Regions from separate parts of the Homo sapiens genome. Here region 1 is linked to region 2. The links are contacts of gene promoters, found by promoter capture Hi-C in human tissues and cell types (Jung and others, 2019). All regions are on one chromosome and are shown on one strand. The core of a region is centred on a gene start or on the middle of the fragment in contact, and the rest is flanking DNA. Distances in the headings are between cores, read along the strand shown. Region 1 overlaps CIB4 (calcium and integrin binding family member 4). Region 2 holds the start of KCNK3 (potassium two pore domain channel subfamily K member 3).

What was found. Contacts are between HindIII fragments. The study calls those that stand out against the background at their distance.
Region 1: a fragment that was not itself captured here is called in contact with the fragment with the promoter of KCNK3 in region 2 in 4 of the 25 tissues and cell types used here (bladder, mesenchymal stem cells, spleen and 1 more).

Annotation. Positions count from the first base shown.
Region 1 is chr2:26,580,526-26,583,719 of GRCh38, forward strand. It overlaps CIB4 (calcium and integrin binding family member 4), which reads right to left. Exons shown (of 7, transcript NM_001029881.3): 6 at 2,300-2,388; 7 at 680-868. The coding sequence ends at 838. Among named protein-coding and RNA genes, the nearest start is that of CIMIP2C, 20 kb to the left of the region's middle. The HindIII fragment of the contact is 6,746 bases long and covers 1-3,194 here.
Region 2 is chr2:26,691,149-26,694,295 of GRCh38, forward strand. It overlaps KCNK3 (potassium two pore domain channel subfamily K member 3), which reads left to right and starts at 1,574. Exons shown (of 2, transcript NM_002246.3): 1 at 1,574-2,010. The coding sequence starts at 1,728. The HindIII fragment of the contact is 34,558 bases long and covers 1-3,147 here.

The sequences.
Region 1 (3,194 bases), core at 546-3,045, 110 kb before region 2:
GGACCTTCTCCAACATTCCAGCACCTCTTAGATTTGATCAAGGGCCCTCCATTAAGGGACAAGGCCCTTATTGTCCTTCAATGGGTGAATCAGGACCTAACTGCAAGGGGAACACAGCCCGGTTCAAGTACACCTGGGGCTGAAGCAGCCCCTCCTCTGTAGCCAGCGATTAGACACCTCCCCCAGGACAGTGTAAATAAGAAAAACCCAATGGGGGGCTTCTTCTGTGTCTCAAAGTCCCTGAGGAGCTGGACCCCAAAGGCTGTCTGTGGTGGCCAAATTCATTCCAGGGCTTGGCTGAATAGCAAAGCAAATAAACTCTAATTGCTGGTCCCACAATCAGGGCCAAGATGCCTTCTCCCTCAGAAGGGGAGTGGGGAGCCGGGCACCGGCTGGAATGGCTGCTATGTGCACGTCTCTGTGCAGCTGTGAACTGTGAGGTGCTGGGGGTCGGGGGTTTTGATGAAGGGAGGGAAGGACATGTATCTTGCTAGGGACCTTCATCCCATTTGGCTTGGCCCCCTGCTATGACATGGGTTGAGATTTGAACTATTCCCTCAGAAAGATTGCCACCCCAGCCTGCTTGACATCGCTGGCACACTGAAGCCCTGGAAAGGGCAGTTCTTAATAAAAAGTACCATGTATGACCCTGCATTTAAAAAGCGATGATCTGATGGGCTAAGGAAAAGCTTTTTCTTTTATCTAATAAACAATATTCTAGAGGTGAGTGTGGGCCCAGTACAAAGTCATACTTCAAACCAGCTCCCTCCAGTGCTGGAGGGGGTTCGATTCCTGTGGTCTCCCTCGAGGCTGCCATGTCAGGTGTTTGCCGCTACATCAGCATCCCCAGAAGTGAATCCGAAAGGAGCTGAAAGAAAGAATCCCGTGAGCCATGTGAGCCCGCAGGTCCAAGGGGCCCTCTGACTCCTGGGTTCACAGTAGTCCTGGAGGCTCCCTCCCCGGCCTGCATCTCGTGTCCCTTTCTCTGGGTGACGGCCACTTTGCAGCCATCCCAAAGCAACCCCAAACCTTCTTTAAGCTTCTTTCAGCATCACCCCAAGGCAAAGGCAGGGCACCAGAAGGAACCTTGTGGTGCTCGAATCAGTGGAAAGAAATGGAAGAGATTCAAAGAGAAACTCTGAGCAGTCGGGGTGCCAGCTTCAATTATGTGCTGGGCTGTGACAGAACAAGAGGAGTTAGCTTTGGCTGGGGTGGTCCCAAGTGTGCATCCTTAGAGAGGGGCCACCCAGGCCACAGGCCCTAGCAGGCCTGTTGGAATGAGGAGCCCCCTCCTCATCCAGGCAGTCAGAAGAGGGGAGGACCCCTGACCATGGCCACTCAGATTCTGTCTCTGGGGATTTGGAGTCAGAGCTGAGAGGTGTTACTCAGGAGTCACTGAAAGTCACTCAAGACCAAGGAGGTATAAACTTGACCACTGCAGGGAGGCCGTGCATGGTCTTATGTCTGACAAAGCGGAGACAGCTGGTGCACAGCACAGAGTGAGCGTGGAGGGGCGATGGGAGGCAGAGACGTTGGCACAGAGGGACCCAGCAGCCCCGGGCTCCTGCCCTGGTGCTGGCTGAGGTCTAGCTCTTTGCTCTGTTTCCCTTAGTCTGTAAAAGCACCTTGAGTGGGCATACTTGAAATCAGCGCACCTCTGAGACCAGGGGCAGAGTCGGACCCAGGAGCAGGAGACGCCAGCTCCACCCGGCTGGTCCTCCATGGCACGCGCTGCCTCCAGGGGGCACGCATCTCCCGAAAGCAGCAGCACCCCAAAAAGACTTCAACGTGGCCAGGGAGATCTGGAGATGGCCAGCCTTCTCAAGGACGTTTGGGCCTCAGAAGACCCTTTGGGCCCCTCCTGCTCTAAGAAATAGAATTGGGTGCTTCTCTCATTGTTTCTTTTCTATGAGCTCCACCACCAGCATCTTCAGATCCCCCCTGTAAACCCCTACCTCCCAGTTGGCCGCTGGAGGCAGTGGGGTCGTCAGGAGCCTAGTGGGCTTTGGGAGAAGCACAGAGGTGTGTCAGCTGGCACAGGGAATGCTCTGAGGTTGGAGCTGTGACGTCATTCCCAAAGCCTGGGATCCAGTCCTCTCCTCTGCCTTTTAATACCCCAGGGTTACCTAATTTCTCAGAATCTCCAGTTTTGCTGACTCTGAAAGAATCTGCAAAGTATTCTGGAAACTCACAGCCTTCTTGGGAAGACTGAGATGTCCCATGGAGTGAGGAGAGACTGGGGGCCCTTCCTGCCCCCACCACTCTCCTGGACAGTCTCACCCCCTCCAGAATGCCTTACTTCATGAAATCTGGAGACTTGGCCATTGCATGTTCAAACTCTGAGAAGGACAGCATGTTGTCATTGTCCAGATCCGACTCACTCAGGACCTGGCGAGGGAGCACAGAAGACAGTTGAGTGGAACCCCATGTCAGGCAGTGAGGTGGGGCACAGGGTGGAGGGGGAAAGCCACATGCCAGGGGCTCTCCCACATGCTTAACACTTGTCTCCTGGGTCCCCTGACCCCAGTGACCCCACAGAGATTAGGTTATGTGCACCAAAGTTTGGGACCCTACTGGTTGCCTCTCACTCCTGGGGCCTCCAGCACGAGCCTGGCAGTGAGAGAACAAGAGTGTCCCCCACCTGCCCCACCAACCAGTACACACAGGGGCTCTGCACTGAAGGGGGCCCAGGCAGGCAGGGAGGCGGTGGTGACTCCCTCAACAGTGCTTATGGTTTTATCTTCTAGTCCCCATCGAGACTGGAAATGCTGGACACTTGTCATGTTCTGAAAGCAGAGATCCATGCCCTGACTTGAGTTTGCAGGGCCGTCCTCGTGTTTGTCACTCCAGGACACCTGGGCACTGTGTTGTGCTGGGACAGAGTGGGGAGGGGATGTTGAGATGGGTCCCTCTGAGGTTGAGCTGTTGTTGGCCCACCAATGGCAGTCCCTGTCATGTAGGGAGGCCCCTCGAGTGGGTGGGTCGGGCTCCGTGTTCTGGGGACCCTGGAAAGGACTTGGAGGAAGGACAGAAAGTGGAGGGGCAGTTGCCTCCAGCTGTGTGCCCATTCCTCAGGGCACCCTGAGCTGCCTGTCCCCTTGGCAGCCCCCAGGGAATGTGTGCACCAAAGGCCAATGTGTCATCTGCCTCAGGCTGGCCCTGGGTCTCCTCCCAAGAGGGTGGCCTGACATCCG
Region 2 (3,147 bases), core at 324-2,823:
ATCCCTGACACACAACAGATGCTTAATAAATACTTGTTGAAGGAATGAAGGGGTTGGTGGCACTTCTGGGGTGTCATTGGAGGAGTGTAGTGTCCGGCAGTGACAGGTCAGCCCAGCCTGTGGGTAGACAGTGCTCCAGCTTCTGGCTGACTGCCTCCTGAGTCTGCTCTCAGTCAGGGGCCTTGGTGTCTCTTCCCTGTCTCTCTGCCTGGCCCATGCCAGGGTCCTGTGAAGGACTTTTTAACCCTTCTTGGCACTGAGATTTGCATTCCAATCATTCTGCTCACTCAGCCCATCCAAGTCTGGAGTTGTTTAGAGCTGGGCAAGGCCTGTGGGATCATCTGCTACGACACCTCGTTGAAAAGATAAGGAAACAAGGCTCTGAGAGGGTCAGTAATGCCTGAGTTTCCACTACCCTTCCCACCTCACCACCATAGCCACCATGTTTGACAAATGAAGAAACTGAGGCATAGGGACCCCCTCTCCTGCCCCAGTTCCCGCAGTCTGCCAGTGAGCCTCCTGCTCTGGGCCCCACCTGCCCAATTCCAGCTAGATCCCGGTTCTGCTGGGATGCCCTAAGGTGGTGGCAGGTGCTATCTCTGGCAACTCAGCCTAAGCCCAGCCTGGTGCACGGGTGCAAGACAGGAACCATGGGAGTCGGGACAGCCTAGAAGCCCCTGGGAGCGAAGCAGGAGGCCTAGACTCCCAGCCTGTGCCTTCTCAGCCAGTTCCAAGAACTGTGCTGACCTGGGAAGGCACACATTGCCTGAGAACAGGGCTTTCCCTTGGGTGTCAGCTCATGTGTGCCCAGGTCCACAGCTGGGCCCTGCCTGCTTCCAAGACAGCCAGAGTCTGGCCCAAGGGAGGAAGGAGTGTGGCCTGGGAGGAAGGAACGCTTGGCTGAGTCCCAGTGCTGTCACGAAATCACTGCGTGCCCATGCGTGTCACTTGACCTCTCTGGGCCTCCATTTCCTCATCCATAGGATAAGGGCAGGACAGCGAGGCCCCAAGTGCCTCCTGGCTGCAATATGCTGTGATGAGGGTGGAGGGTGGGGTGGGGAGGGGCTCGCTCTGCCTTCCTTGCCTTCCTGTCTGTTTCTCTGTCATTAGTTTATCTCCAGCAATCCAGGCCTCTCTGTCTCAGTCTGTTGCTCTCTCTGTTTCCATCTTTTGCTCTGTATTTTTCTGCCCGCCTCTCTTCTTTTTCTGTCTGAGTGCACCTCTGATTTTATCTCCTCCTCTGTCACACAGCCCCCTTCCCTCAGTCCTACACTGCCTTTCTCCCATTCTCCGTAGTTATCAGCGTTTCGCTGTCTAGTTTTCTCTGTCTCTCGGGCTCGCTCTCTCTCTCTTTCTCTCTCTCTGTCCTGCCCGGGCTCTCTCGCGGCCGCCCCTCCCGTCCCCTCCGCCAGCCCCCCTCCTCCCTCCTCGGCGCGTCTCCCCAGTCCTTATTTGGCTGGGCGGGAGGGCTGGCGGGAGGAGGCGGCCTGCGGGCGGGGGGCGGGGGGCGGGCGCGGGGCCGGGCGGAGGAGGGCGGTGGGTGGTGCTGAAGGGACAGCTCCGCGGCGGCGGCGGCGGCGGCGGCCCCGGGCGCTGAGCGGGTGCCCGGCGCGGAGAGCGGCGAGCGCAGCCATGCCCCAGGCCGCCTCCGGGGCAGCAGCAGCGGCGGCCGGGGCCGAGGCGCGGGCCGGGGGCGCCGGGGGGCCGGCGGCGGCCCGGGCGGGACGATGAAGCGGCAGAACGTGCGCACGCTGGCGCTCATCGTGTGCACCTTCACCTACCTGCTGGTGGGCGCCGCGGTCTTCGACGCGCTGGAGTCGGAGCCCGAGCTGATCGAGCGGCAGCGGCTGGAGCTGCGGCAGCAGGAGCTGCGGGCGCGCTACAACCTCAGCCAGGGCGGCTACGAGGAGCTGGAGCGCGTCGTGCTGCGCCTCAAGCCGCACAAGGCCGGCGTGCAGTGGCGCTTCGCCGGCTCCTTCTACTTCGCCATCACCGTCATCACCACCATCGGTAACGGCTCGCCGGGCGGGGGGCGGGAACCCAGGGCTGGGCGCGGGGCTCCGGGAGTCGTCCGGGGCCGGCTGGGGCTGGGGGCGGGGGCTCCCCCGAGAGGGGCTGGGCGCCGAACCCTGCGCTCGCAGAAACCCGAGTTCAGCCTGGCGTGTGTGCTCCGCGGGGACGGAACTCGGGGAGGCGTCGATTCCTGGCTCCGGACCTGACTCTCCGGCCGGGCCAGCCCTAACTTGGCCCTGCCATGTTGCATAGGCCCCCAGGGACTCCGAAGTGTGTGAGAGGGGCAGGGACGACCGGCGGAGGCTCGGGCAGGAGGGGTGTGGCCGGGCCAGGCCCTGAACAGGGCGCTGAGAGTGAGCGGCGGGAGAGCGCCAGTGCTCCGTATCCCTGAGGATCGGCTTCCACAGCCTAGCAGGTCTACACCTGCTGGGCTCTGGGGAGGCATGAGGATGTCGGAATGCGGCACTTCGGGGCACTTGGGGCCACCCTATAACGGCGGCTGTGAGTGTACGTGTGTCTGCGTGTTTCAGCTCCAGGAGTTTGGTCGCCACCAGTCAGTGCCTGTGATTTTCTCAGAGCGGCAGAATTGGTGCGGGAAGCCAGATCTGGCCTTGTCAGCCTTCTTCTCTGCTGTCCCAGCAAAACAGTCACCTCACAGGAATAACCCCAGTTCTTTCCAAGCCAGGGCAGATCACCATGTAGGAGGCCACACGTACACCCAGACTGTCAGACAACACAGGCATAGGCACACATGCACACAGATACACACAGGCACTCACAGGGTACACACAGGGCGGGCACACACACACACACACACAGAGAGAGAGACAGAGAGAGAGAGAGAGAACAAACGTTGCCCAGGAAAGGAATCTCTAGCCAGGCCCTTGGTGGTGCTATTCAAAACTGTCCAGACGGGAATAACACCTTACCTGTCCCCAACACCCTATGATTTCAGCCCAGCTCCATCACTACCGTGATATATGACCTTGGGCAAGTCCCTTCCCCTGTCTGGGTCTCAGGCTCACCTCCAGACAAGGAGGGGTGGCCAAAATGATCTCAAGAGCTCCTCCCCAGCCCCGACGTGCTTGGATTCTGAGATGAAACCCACCTTCCCCCAAAGCCCATTGAGATGCC